Regions from separate parts of the Homo sapiens genome. Here regions 1, 2, 3 and 4 are each linked to region 5. Evidence: promoter capture Hi-C in 16 types of primary human blood cells and fetal thymus (Javierre and others, 2016). All regions are on one chromosome and are shown on one strand. Each heading gives the region's core, a stretch centred on a gene start or on the middle of the fragment in contact. The rest is flanking DNA. Distances are from core to core; before and after follow the strand shown.

The links. The method cuts DNA at HindIII sites, captures the fragments that hold promoters and counts their contacts. A CHiCAGO score of 5 or more calls a contact.
Region 1: a contact is called between a fragment that was not itself captured here and the fragment with the promoter of TMTC2 in region 5, in 1 of 17 cell types (naive B cells). The highest score is 5.3, in naive B cells.
Region 2: a contact is called between a fragment that was not itself captured here and the fragment with the promoter of TMTC2 in region 5, in 1 of 17 cell types (naive B cells). The highest score is 8.7, in naive B cells.
Region 3: a contact is called between a fragment that was not itself captured here and the fragment with the promoter of TMTC2 in region 5, in 1 of 17 cell types (naive CD4 T cells). The highest score is 5.6, in naive CD4 T cells.
Region 4: a contact is called between a fragment that was not itself captured here and the fragment with the promoter of TMTC2 in region 5, in 5 of 17 cell types (total CD4 T cells, naive B cells, naive CD8 T cells and 2 more). The highest score is 18.5, in total CD4 T cells.

Annotation. Positions count from the first base shown.
Region 1 is chr12:84,827,287-84,829,986 of GRCh38, forward strand. No RefSeq gene overlaps it. Among named protein-coding and RNA genes, the nearest start is that of SLC6A15, 84 kb to the right of the region's middle. The HindIII fragment of the contact is 3,650 bases long and covers 1-2,700 here.
Region 2 is chr12:85,035,846-85,038,548 of GRCh38, forward strand. TSPAN19 (tetraspanin 19) reads right to left here and starts at 432. Exons shown (of 9, transcript NM_001100917.2): 1 at 359-432. LRRIQ1 (leucine rich repeats and IQ motif containing 1) reads left to right here and starts at 506. Exons shown (of 27, transcript NM_001079910.2): 1 at 506-562; 2 at 2,308-2,463. The coding sequence starts at 2,332. The HindIII fragment of the contact is 570 bases long and covers 994-1,563 here.
Region 3 is chr12:85,056,653-85,059,441 of GRCh38, forward strand. LRRIQ1 (leucine rich repeats and IQ motif containing 1) reads left to right here. Exons shown (of 27, transcript NM_001079910.2): 8 at 1-532. Among named protein-coding and RNA genes, the nearest start is that of LRRIQ1, 22 kb to the left of the region's middle. The HindIII fragment of the contact is 1,356 bases long and covers 740-2,095 here.
Region 4 is chr12:84,848,869-84,851,568 of GRCh38, forward strand. No RefSeq gene overlaps it. Among named protein-coding and RNA genes, the nearest start is that of SLC6A15, 63 kb to the right of the region's middle. The HindIII fragment of the contact is 9,785 bases long and covers 1-2,700 here.
Region 5 is chr12:82,685,571-82,688,270 of GRCh38, forward strand. It overlaps TMTC2 (transmembrane O-mannosyltransferase targeting cadherins 2), which reads left to right and starts at 1,336. Exons shown (of 12, transcript NM_152588.3): 1 at 1,336-2,099. The coding sequence starts at 2,017. RefSeq lists silencers at 287-366, 1,217-1,316, 1,887-1,936, 2,297-2,356 and enhancers at 797-946, 967-1,176. The HindIII fragment of the contact is 3,615 bases long and covers 1-2,159 here.

The DNA of each region.
Region 1 (2,700 bases), core at 135-2,634, 2.1 Mb after region 5:
AATCAGAACCTATATTTTAACAAACTCCTCAGTTGATTCATATGCATACTCAAGTTTGAGATGCATTTCTCTAGCTCTTTTTCTCAACTCTCTATTACTTTACACTCAGTCTTTGTACATATGCCCAGGTATTTCAAATCTATTTCTTAGATGAAAGTAATTGCAGATCAAGGAAATAAAATAATCTCCTTCCCAACAGAAACACTTCATCGAACTTCTTATGTAAATCTGTTTTCTTTCTCACCCATATTTTATAGCCTGGAAACAATTTGTAAAACAGTTTATGTGACCAGAAATCCTTCATGATAATTCTGTGTAATTTGATACCATAATAATACAATTATTTGTTAATTCTTTGTTGAAACTTTTTTTTAAGTTTCTATGGAGAAGTCTTGAAATTAAACTTTTCTCCTGATATAGTTTGGCTATGTCCCTACCCAAAATCTCATCTTGAATTGTAATCCCCATAAACTCCATAATCCCCACATGTTGTGAGCAGGACCAGGTGGAGGTAACTGGATTATGGAGACAGTTTGCCCCATGCTGTTCTCATGAAAATGAATGTTTCTCACAATATCTGATGGTTTTATAAGTGTCTGGCATTTCCCCTTCTTGCACTCACTCTGTCCTGCCACCCTGTGAAGAAGGTGCCTGCTTCTTTTTTGCCTTCCACCATGATTTTAAGTTTCCTGAGGCCTCCCCAACAATGTGGAACTGTGAGTCAATTAAACCTCTTTCCTTTATAAATTACCCAGTCTCAGGTATTTCTTCATAGTAGTATACGAATGGACTAATACAGTAAATTGGTACCGAGATAGTGGGGCATTGCTATAAGTTACCTGAGAATGTGGAAACAACTTTGGGACTGGGTAATAGGTAGAGATTGAAACCACTGTAGGGGTCAGAAGACAGAAAGATTTGGGAAAATTTGGAACTTCCTAGAGACTTGTTGAATGGCTTTGACCAAAATGCTAATACTGATATGGGCAATGAAGTCCAGGCTGAGGTGGTCTCAAATGGAGTTGAGTAACTTGTTGGGAACTCTTGCTATACTTTAGCAAACAGACTGGCGGCATTTAGCACCTGCCCTAGGGATCTGTGTAACTTTGAACCTGAGAGAGATGATTTGGGGTATCTGGTAGAAGAAATTCTAAGCAGAAAAGTGTTCAAAAGGAAGCAGAGCATACAAATTATGAAAATTTGCAGCATGACGATGTGATAGAAAAAAAATTCTGGGGAGAAATTCAAGCCCACTGCAGAAATGTTAATCACCAAGACAATGAGGAAAACATCTCCAGGGCATGTTAGATACCTTCATGGCAGTGCCTCCCATCCAGGCCCAGAGGCCTAGGAGGGAAAAATGGTTTTGTGTGCTGGGCCCAGGGCATCCTGCTCTATGCAGCCTTGGGACATGGTCCCCTGTGTCCCAGCTGCTTCACCTCCAAGCATGGCTAAAAGGGGTCAAGGTACAGCCTGGGCTATTGCTTCCGAAGGTGCAAGTCCCAAGCCTTGGCAATTTCCATGTAGTGTTGAGCCTGCAGATATACAGAAGTCAGGAATTGAGGTTAGGAACCTCCATCTAGATTTAAGGGGATGTATGGAAATGCCTGCATGTCCAGGCAGAAGTTTGCTGCAGGGGCAGAGCTGTCATGAAGAGCCTCTACTAGTGTAGTGCAGAAGGGATATATCAGGTTGTAGCCCCCACACAGAATACCCACTGGGACACTGCATAGTGGAACTGTGAGAAGAGGGCCACTATTCTCCCATTCTCAGAACAGTAGATCCACCAACAGCTTGCACCATGTGGCTGGAAAAGCTGCAGACACTTGGTGCCAGCTTGTGAAAGCATCTAGGAGAGGGGCTGTACCCTGCAAAGCCACAGGGCCGGAGTTGTCCAAGGCCATGGGAGCCCACCTCTTGCATCAGCATGACCTGGATGTGAGACCTAGTGTCAAAGGAGATCATTTTGGAACTTTAAGGCTTAATGTCTGCCCTATTGGATTTGGGACTTGCATGGCGCCTGTAGCCCATTTGTTTTGGCCAGTTTCTTCTATTTGGAACAGGTTTATTTACCCAATGCCTGTACCCCCATTGTATCTTGAAAGTAACTAACTTGCTTTTGATTTTACAGGGTCAAAGGCAGACAGGACTTGCCTTGTCTCAGGTGAGACTTTGGAATTAGACTTTTGGGTTAATGCTGGAATGAGTTAAGACTCTGGAGGACTGTTGGAAAGCCATGACTGTGTTTTAAAATGTGAGGACACAAGATTTGGGAGAGGCCAGGGATGGAATGATATGGTTTGACTATGTTCCTACCCAAAATCTCATCCTGAATTGTAATCCCCATAATCCCCACGTGTCAAGGGTGGGACCAGGTGGAGGTAATTGGATCCTGGGGTCAGTTTGCCCCATGCTGTTCTCCTGATAATGAGTAAGTCTCATGAGATCTGATGGTTTTGTATGCATTTGGCATTTCCCCTGCTTGCACTCACTCTGTCCTGCCACCCTGTGAAGAAGGTGCCTGCTTCTCTTTGCCTTCCACCATAAGTATATGTTTCCTGAGGCCTTCCCAACAATGTAGAACTGTGAGGCAATTAAAGCTCTTTTCTTTACAAATTACACAGTCTTGGGTATTTCTTCATTGCAGTGTGAGAGCGGACTAATATATCCCCTCTCCTAGCTTGTAAATACACGTGGGAT
Region 2 (2,703 bases), core at 29-2,528, 2.4 Mb after region 5:
TTTTCAAATTTCTCACCCACATCCCTTCAGTTAGAGGTTTTTGATGGGCATTGATTGATGATTTTTTTCTTTTTTCCTTTTTCTTTTCTTTTCTTTTTTAAAAAACTGTTGTCATGGAAGGCAAACAACTTATTGACTTCTCTTCCATACTTCTATGTCCCACAAATCACTGTTCAGGATTAAGGGTTTGTGGAATGAACACCTTATACATGGGCAAATCACCAGATGGAAATATAAATATATGTAGCTCAGAAACAATTTAAAAAATTTAAAAGTGAGATTACATCTACTTGGGTAATTATAACAAAATTTCATTTTATTAAGTATTTTCCAAAGTTACTTAAATATTAAAATCTACCTGTAAAAAACCGTAAGCTCCTCATCCAGTCCCTGAAATGCTGCGTTCGTTTCAATTTAGAATCGAGATTGTTTGTCCTTCTAGAGCACCTGTAGGGAAAAACCGGTGTCTCTTCCTTGTGATTGGCTGTTGCCATGGATACGCTTTGTGTAGCGGCTATGGGCGCTGTCTTACAACAAAGCCAAGGAATCTCGCTGCTGAGGGGTGAGCCGGGGTCTTAAGACTGGGATTCCCGTTGAGGGAGGTGAACAGCTGTGGGAGCTCAGGCCGAGCCGGGACTCTCTCTGCCTGGCCAGACTTCCAGCAAAGGGAGAGACCGCGGGTCAGGGGATGGCTGTGCGACTCTGCGAAGCTCGAGGCTCCCTTCCACCCTGGAGATTTCGAGAACTCATTCAAAACTTAAAGAGATGTCTTGGCTATGTAGGGATCATTCGATGGTTACTCACTCACCGCTCCCCACAAACCAATTGACGTTATTTTCCTTCCTTCCTTCCCTTCTTGTCGCCCTCCTTTCCACCCTTTCTTTTTCTGTCTCTCTTTCTTTCTTTTTTTTTTGGTAATATATAATTTATATGAACCTTATAAAGTAGATTTCTCTCCCCTTTCTTTACAGGGGTTGAAGGGGGAGTTCCTTAAGCTTTTCTACTTTTGACAGCTTTAGTGAACTCCAAGTGATTCGTTATCAACTTAGAGCACTTTAATGTAGCCCATTTACAGTGAGACCCATCCATGACTGCACGTCATATACAGTAACCACTAACTGCAGGTGGCTACTGAGGACTTGAAATGCAGCTAATCCTAACTGAGATGTGCTGCAGGTGTAAAACACACAACAGATTTCTAAGAATTACTGTCCAAAGAAAGAATATAAACTCTTTGCAATGATATTAATAATTAATTTTGTTATTACACGTTGAAATATTTTGGATATATTGGGTTAAATAAAATATATTATAAAAATTAATTGCACTTCTCTTTTGTTTTTAAAAAGTTGCTAATAGAAAATTTAAACTTGCGTAAGTGCTCAAATATGTAATTGGACAGGGGTGATCTAATGAGCCAGTAGATGAACAGAGAAAGTCATGTAAAGGAAATGACTCTTACCTCCACCATACTCTCCTGCCTCTCTTTCTATATAAAGTTTAGTATACCCGTGCATTTTGCTTTGTAGGCATAAAAAAAAAATCTAGCTTTCCTTCTAATAAAGCTTTTTAAATGCACTTTGAGTTCCATTGCAGGATAATATTTTGCCCTGGTTCTGTCTGGAGTTCCATTTCACTTTGTTTTTCTTTTCTTTTCTTTCTTTTCCTTTTTTTATTTTATTTTTTATTTTTGAGTGAGTGAGTGAGGGTGGAAGTTATGGGTAGAACTGATTTTGAGATGATTGAGTAGAGTGAAAGGAGGAATTAACGAAAGGGAAAGAGGATGGAAAGAAGGAATGAAGAAAAGAACAAGAAGACAGGTGGAAAGGTCAGGCCCTTGAGTAAAGAAAGAAAGGTTTAAACTAGTGTCATGAAAAATAAAATGATAGCTGACTAGTACGTTTTCAAACCTTTTTTGGGACTAAGACCAACAGTGAAAAATAAAAAACAGAACATTAACAACAACACATATTACATTGCAACTCATGCATACATACCTACATTTATATGTATTAATAACTGAAACAAAAATTTTATAAACAATTCTGATCTTTATTATATATAGTAAAATTATATAAACATATAAATCAATAAGAGTATTAGCGTACAATTACAGTTGATCATTTTGTAGTCAAAGTTTAAAAAGAATGATTGAAGAGATAAAACAATGTTTGGTGTAACCATAATAAGGTGTGATAAAAGTTTGTTAAATTAAAACATATTTAAATAAATATGTTGGATTGGTATGACAAATTAGAGAACACATAATTTTTAGTGACATATTAGCCTCTTCATTTTTTAAAGCAGTTCTGTGCTTTATTATGAAGAATAATGGACGATGATGATGCAAAGCTCAAAGCAGAAATAGAAGCTGAATTGGATAAACTCAGCATTTCCTCCTTGGAAAAAGAAGACATTGAGAGTGATGCAAAATCAGAAACCCAGAGTGATGATAGTGATACAGTGAGTATTGCACTTTTGAGCCTTTTAACAGGAGTAGGCTTTTCAGGAGAAATATTACTTTTCTCAGGATGTTTTTATGTACTTCTCATTTTTAGCAGCATTGTTATAAACAATTTATATAAATATAAATTATATTGAATATATATAGTCACCTATACATCTTCGTAAAATTGGGATTATCATTATATATATTTATATCCTGATTTTTGTTTTTACTTGTGAACATTTTAGCATGATTAA
Region 3 (2,789 bases), core at 168-2,667, 2.4 Mb after region 5:
TTCCAAAGATGTAAGAGAAAACGTAATATTACAAGAAAAAGAAATTTATTCAAAATCCAAAGAAATTGAGGAGAACCCAAAAGACAATGCTTGGAATAGTGGCATTGTGATTTTTAACACAACTGATACCATGATAAATATAGAAGGCAAAAGAAATGACCAAGATTATGTGTTAGGTAGACATGCTCCTTGTGAGGGCTTGAGTAACTATAATGCAGAAAGCTCCATGGTATCTAAAGAAGTCAACTCTCTTAAATCTGAGATTAGAAATATTTCAGAAAAATGCCATGAAAATGCACCTGAACCTGATAGCATGACCTGCTGTGTATCAGAGTCAACCCTTCTATATTCTATTGAAGAAAGGAGACTAGCCTGGATAAAATCATTTAAACCTTGGCTTGAAATTTTCAAGCAAAATCAACAAAAGAAAATTGTTAGAAGAAAGAGACCTGTGAAATGCCCAGCCAACATGACACCCGCTTTGGATAAACTGGAAATTCTTCGATGTGGCCCTTGGGATACTTTACAGCAGGTATTTCTAATTTTATAATAATTTTTCACATTTAATTACAATTAGCTCTTTAAAGTATAACTTTTCAGATCTTAGAAAAAGAAATATTTTGTATACAAGAATTGTCTCTTGTTTAATAAAGTTATGAATGAAATATTACCCCATTTGGGAGGGGATATATCTCAACAAATTGTTCGAGGCATCTTCCCTAAGTGACACTCTATAAAAAGCTTTGATTTATATTTTTTAATATCTTGAAGCCTGTGTTCAAGGGCCCTCCAGTCATTATTTAAACCTCTAAGAATGGAAGCATATAGAAAGTTAGGGTTAGAATTATAGTAGGAAACTCCTAAGTAAACAGAAGTTTGCTTTAGACTTGAGCCACCACACCACCTAGTGGCTGCTTTTGGAATAAAGTGGATTTTATGTCCATGACCACTGTTGTGAAAGAAGGGCTTGCATGATAGAAGACCCTGAAGACCCTAGAATTCCCATCTAGCAACAATTATTTAGCGTGTGCTATTTAAAGGTGGTGCATATATGTCTGAAATGTAAAATAGTTGTCATCAAATGTTACTAATTTTATATGGTTATGGAGAACATAGTTTCAACCAAAATTAAGACACAGAAACTAATAAACGTATAGAAAAAGAGAAAATAATATTTTAAACAGTGTAACACTAGAAAGCACTTATGATTAAAATACATATATTTAGCTAAGGCCTGAAAGTCAAAAGTATTCAATAAAGTTTATTTAGTTTCTTGATAGACTTTCTTGCTAGACAGATGCCTAGGAGAAAGAACAATCATATTAATAGATAAACATTATTTTGTTTATTCACTCAGCAAATATTCATCTATCCAATAAGATGATCAATATTTATTGGTTGACTAATAAACAAAGAAAACCCAGTCTTTTACGGAGCTTAAACACACATAAATACGTTATTATGGATCTTGAGAATTGCTGTAAATAAGGCTTCAGAGTATCCTGTGAGAGAATAATAAAATAGTGGGATTTTGAAGATATTTCTGGTATATGAAATAGCAATATAAGAGATGAGAACTGGGACATACACTTTTAAGTGTCTTTTATTTCCTGGGTAATGTATTTGCCACATCTGTCAGGTCTGCAGAGCTACATATAGAATCTCTCATCTGCTCTTCTCCAATTTTTTCCTTGCGCATGTTATCTCTGGAATCATGTTTTAGCACTTTTCTTTCTCTAACATATTGCTGCAGGCCTTCCAATATGATAACATTAGCAATTATTTAGTTTTCCTCATGAGTATCTGTTAAAGCTAGGCAAGAGTGATGGCTTCATGCCTACAGTGTACTTGCTTCAAAAGTGAAAATGAAGTTACAGAAACAGTAGTGTTCCTCCCTTGCTTTGTAGGTCTCTGTTCTGTCCAATGAGAAGGAAGTTAAGATGTGTGAGCCTCTTTCTCCTTGGCATTTCTTCTCCAGCTGACTCTCTGTTCCTTCTTTCGAACGTTTGTCAATTTACATAAAATGATAATTAACTCTTTCTTTTACTTCTTAGAGCAAGGCCTGGCAAACTATTAAAATCTATAGAATACCTGAAGCTTTGTAGAAATGTGGATTCTGATTCAATAGGTCTGGTGATCCACCCATTCTCCATTCTTGCAATGATTCTAAATGATGATGTTGGTGCTGGTGAGTGGACTAATCTGAGTAGCAGTGTTCTAAAGGGCACCATAATCCTCTCATCCCTTCTTAAAGCAACTATCTCAAGCTTTTAATTTAGCTTTGAAGCATCAAATAGGCAGTATAAAGATGAAAAATACATGTGAATGTGCCATATAGATGCTAAAATGTTAAGAAAATATCATCTTTTGTTACCAGACAACTCCTGTAAAGATTCTGTTTGGTAGATGGCTTACCATGGTGTCTTTATTCACCACTGTTACTACTGATCCATGGCTCAGTTTCTTTTTGACTTTCTGATCTTTTAGCTTCAGATCTTTATCCTTATCCTGATCACTCACTGCCATCCTTGGGATGTCCTTCTGGAGATCAACTTAGAAAAGTTTATTGTCTCCCAGTAATGCATTCATTTTGCTTACATTAATCTCTTACTTTGAGACTTCAAGACATAAATCGGATCTTCGTGTTGTTCATACTTCTTTACACATTGCCAGGCAAATAAAGATACTCCTCAAGTTACAATGAAGTTACATCCAGATAAACCTACATAGCTTACAACTGGGCAAAATCATCTGGCAACGTGGTACACTGTAGAGTATTTGTTGTTTAC
Region 4 (2,700 bases), core at 47-2,546, 2.2 Mb after region 5:
AGAAAGTATAGAGTGAATAGTTAAACTTTGATTTGATTTGTTCAGCAGCGATTCGGACATCCAGGTCCCTTCTGCTCAGACAGGCAATCTTCATTGTTCAGTTCTATAAGATATTAATTTCATTATTGTAATGCTCATATGTTCCAGTATTAATCCTTTTAATATTTGCTCAAATTGAAATCTTTAAAATGGAGGTTTAAAAAGGCATATCCCCGATGAGACAGAGAGTGCTCTGGAGGGAATAAATATAAGCCAGGTGTCTGCATTATTAATTCTATTGACCTTGCACTAATGTGTGTAAATGCTAGTGATGAGCAGATAGAATGGCTGCCACATTGTTATTGTGCTTGAAATTTTTAAAATTTACTCTATATTATCAGGTCAAGGTGTGCTGGGGTTTCATGTTCTACTTTTTTTTGCTTTTTATAATGAAACATTCCTTAAAAACACTGAAACAACCAATTTTTGGAACTAGTATATTAGACTGTTCCTGAAAAAATTCTATTCTCAGAAAAACAAATGTCAATCTCTACTAATTAGTTTTTTTTTAATCTTCTTTACTATGCAACTGAATATACCCTGAAAAGGCAATTGATGAAAAATAATAGCAGCTGGGATATCACCACTCATCTGCAGGAGATGGTTTCTTTTATTTATGCAGCACCACATATGGTATTGCAGAGGCACCACATGGCACGTTTTTGCTGTTCAAACAATTCAGGTGTTTTGGGTTTTGGTGGTGACAGTGTGTGTACATATGTTTTGATGGTGGTACTAAAAATGATCTTGGTGTGTTAAAGCAATAACCAAATCCAAAGGGCATTTAATTTAGGACAAGATAATGTTTAGTCCCTTTTTTCTTTTCACCTCCACATGAGAGGTATTCTTAAGACAAACTTTTAGGTAGAATTTCATGTCATAATAGCTAGAGGATGAGCCAACTTTGGAGTTAAGCATTTGAGGCAAAATAACATATGAAGCATTTTATTTCAGTTCCAAATTTTGAAGGTGAAAATATGCTATACTCAGTAATAGATAGCTTATGGAATGTTTTGTTTTAATATTTCCAATAGTTTTCTAGAGTTTTAAGGTTTTCTCTTTTTGTCAAAACTTTATGGCTCAAAAATTTACAACTAAGCACTTTCATTTTCATTCTGTTTGAGAAAAGGCAATAATAATTTGTCTTATTTCATTTTGTGTTGCTATAACAGAATACCAAAGTCCAGGTAATTTATGAAGAAAAGAGTTTAATTAGCTCATGGTTCTGCAGGCTGGGAAGTTCAAGAAGCATGGTGCCAGCATCTGCTTGGCTTCTGGTGAGGGCTTTTGTGCTGGTCACAACATGGTAGAAGGTCAAAAGGGAAGAAGACGTGTGAAAAGGGATCAACCAGGAGGAACTTCCCTTTATAACAACCCAATCTCATGGGCACTATTCCATTCTTATAAGAACTAATCCAGTCTCATGAGAGAGAGAACTCACTTCTGCAAGAAAGCCACCAAGCAATCCATGAGTGGTCCACTCCCATGACCCAAACGTCTCCCATCAGGCCCCATATTCCAATACTGCCACATTGCGGATAAAATTTCTACATGCATTTTAGTCAAGGAGAAACCACATCCAAAGGATATCAAAATCAATATTTTACTTGTCATTTTTAAATTTTCTTTGCACCCATAATTCCTAACCAAGAATATATATTAGAATAACTGTGAAGTTTTAAAACTATACTCTTGTCCTGCTTCCAACCCCAGAAGAATTTTTATTTAGTAGGTTGGAAATTGATATGGTTTGGCTCTTTGTCTCCATCCGAATCTTATCTTGAATTCTAATCCAAATTGTATTCCACATGTGTTGGGGGAGGGAACTCATGAGAGATAATTAGGTCACAGGGGTGGTTCCCTCATGCTGTTCTTGTGACAGTGAGTGAGTTCTCATGAGATATGATGGTTTTATAAGGGATTTTCCCCCTTCACTCAGCACTTCTCTTTCCTGCTGCCATGTGAAGAAGGACGTGTTTGCTTCCCCTTCTGCCGTGATTGTAAGTTTCCTGAGGCCTTCCCAGCCCTGTGGAACTATGAGGTAATTATACCTCTTTCCTTTATAAATTATCCAGTCTCAGGTATTTCTACATAGCAGTGTGAGAATAGACTAACACAGAAATATAGCTTTAACAAGTGTACAGGTGATTGAAAACATAATTATAGTTAAGGAGCACTATGTATTGATCTTGAATTTACTGGAAACACATACTGATTTGATGATTTGTTAAAAAGAAGTAACTTCTGCATAAAAATACACATAAACACAAACACATGAAAATGCAAATATATTTTCATGAAATTATGTCCTAAGGTCTCACTGTATCAATATACTAGACTATCTCATTATGACTCTAATACCTTACTCAGTACATTTTCTCCTTCATTCTTTTATGTTTTAATTTTTTATTTTTAATTATTATGGGTATATTGTAGGTGTACATATTTGTGGCTGATATGGTTTTTCTGTGTCCCTACCCAAATCTTATCTTGAATTGTAACGCCAACAATTCCCACATGTCATGGGGGTAACCCAGTGAGAGGTGATTGAATTACGGGGGCAGGTCTTTCCTGCACTATTCTTGCAATAGTGAACGAGTCTCACAAGATCTATGATTTTAAAAATGGGAGTGTCCCCGTACGAGTTCTCCTTTTTGCCTG
Region 5 (2,700 bases), core at 86-2,585:
ATGTGCTACTGTGGATGGCATAACAGGTATAATATTAATAAATATTCATCATTTTATCTGTGTGTATCCAATACAGATTTCTCAGATTTCCTTGTGAAATCAGGGAAATATGTAGCTTTGTTCTACAGAAGCCCAGACCACGGTATTTTCTTTCCAGGCCACTGCTAGACACCCAGGGGGCTCAATTTCTTGCCACAGTTTCGGAGAGCTTGCTGGTTAGGTGCTGCTCTTGGTTGGAACCAGTCGGCCCGCATGCAAAACAGACCTGTCTTCCACACCTTGTGGTTACTATGCAGCAGGGGGCGCTGCAGTAGTGTACATCGCGGTGCACCGGAGCTACTCTCCTGGCCAGAAAGCCAACAAGCCGGGAGGAGGCGTGTCAGGCAGCCCTGGGTCCTCTTTGGTCTTGCAACTTTAGTACCCAGAGCTTGTTCTACACAGACCATTCTACACCATATTTCACCATGTTGGATGCTTTCCATCCAGTCCTGCCTCCGAGCGGAAAGGAAAGGGCATTAGCTTACTGCCTTACTAGGTTTAAGTATAATGCTGTACCGGCTTGCACTAGAGGTTTCTCTCCTGTGTTCTCAGGGTCAACCCGACAGTCCCTCTGAAACCACGAAGGGGTCCCCGGGCAGTTGCTGCGGGGTGTGTGTGTGTCTTTCTTTCCCTTTTTGGGGTCCTTTCTTTTTAACCTTACTGAAGGAGGAAACGTTTCTCTCCCTACACGTCTTTCCACTGACATTGTGGCCAACCGTAGGCTAAGAGCTGAAATCTCTCCTTCCTAAGTTGCCTCCAAGCTCTCCAATACTACCTCCTCCCCCCCATTTAGTCTCACACACAGTGTGCGTGAGAGATCGCCAGTGAGTTTGTGACAACCGAAGCTGCAGCAGTCGCCAAACCTGTTCTTCCTCTCCCGGTCTCAGAAGTCTCTCCAGCTGACCGGACTTACGCCTGGCAGCTCTTGGCACACACAGCGCTGTGGCTGAGATTCAGCCGTGCCAGGCGCTGCCAGGCAGCAGCGGGGCGACCGACCACCTCCTCCTCGACCTCCTTTCTCCCAGCTTCCCCTCCCAGGGTGCACTGTATCTACTCCTTTGGGCTGTCTTCCAGCCGTCGCCCTTGGGTCCCGGGGGCTTTCCAGAGTGAAATCGAAGGTGAAAGAAACAAGAGGACGGGAGGCTGGTAGGAGGAGCCTCCAGGCCGGGGAGGGTGGGAGGAGCCTCCAGCCCGAGGGGCAGGGTAGGAGGAGCCTTCCGGGAGGATCTGGGTGGAGAAAGGGGCTGGGCCAAGCCGGGATGGAGGGTTGGTCACGCAGGCGCGGGGGGCCGCGTCGAGAACCCCACGCGGGAGCTTCTGGAGTCTCCAGCCACCGCTTCTCACTTCACTGGAGAAGGGAGCTGGGGCTGGGGCTGGGGCTGGGGCTGGGAGGGAGCTAATAAACATTGAATGTGCAGCAGCTGCCTTGGCGGCCGGAGTCCGCCCGAGCGACACCGGAGCAGTGCGCCCGGGAGGCGGCGAGGGGAGGCGGTTCGCCTTGTCCCTCCCACCCGCGCCTCTTTCTCTCTCTTCCTCCAGCTGGTCCCAGAGCCCGGCTTGGTCCGGTCCCTCTGCCCCCATCCCGCACCCTTCCACCTCCTCCGAGTCCCACTCCTCACCTAGGACGCCCCAAACTGCCATGGGTTAGGGTGGGGATCGCGACCCGCGCGAAAGACCAGCCCTGCGCTTCCGCCGGGGGACGCGGAGCCCAAACGCCGCTCACCGCTTGCGGGCGCCGGGCATGGGGAGTGTGGTGTGAGCCCGCACCCGGGGAGGACGCAGGAGCTGCGGAGACGGGCGCGAGGAGGAGGAGAGGAGTCGTGGATTGGAAGGACCCGAGGGAGGGAGGGTGGGGAAGCGAGGGAAAAGTGAAGCTGGGAGGAGAAGGCGGCGGAAGGTGGAGATTGATGCTTCTGTTTTTTGTTGCCGCTGCTGCCCTCGCGCTGGGAGCCGAGCCGGAGGGAAGGCGGTGGAGAGATGATTGCAGAGTTGGTGAGCAGCGCTCTGGGGCTCGCCTTGTATCTCAACACCCTGAGTGCGGATTTCTGCTATGATGACAGGTAAGGGGCCGAGAGGAGGGGGCGACGGGCTGCAGGGGGCACACTCCGCAGTGGCTCTGAAGCTTCCCTCTTTAAGGCTCAAAGTGCGTCTTGGAGGAACTGGTTCAGCACCTGATGGTTTAGGCGACACGTAAACATTAACACCTAAATCAAACACCGGGGACGTGAGGCGCGCTGGGCGGGCCGAGGGAGTTTCCGCTCCTAGTTTGCAGCAGGTTCTCTCCCTTGCTTCTCGGCTGTTGGCAGACGCTTGAGTTTCTTAGCGGAAATCCCGGCAATTTGGGAAACTGTTTAATGAACGTATTAAATTAAAGTCTTAGGTATTCCTTGATGCAACAAAGCACATTAAGTGATTTTACGTCTGGTTGGGAGGAAGCCTCTCCTCGATCCCTGATAGATCCTCCCTGTCCCGTTTCCTTTTATTGATGGGACACTTTTATTTCCCGAAGTTAAAACACACGTTTGATAGTTGCCAAAATTGTGAAAAGGGAGATCGTTCTCTGCTTTAACTTTCCCTTTTAACGTGTATAGACTTTTACTTTGAGCCAAAATAATGCTGCTGATGGTCTCTCCCGCCGCCCTAGCCTCCTTCACCAATCCA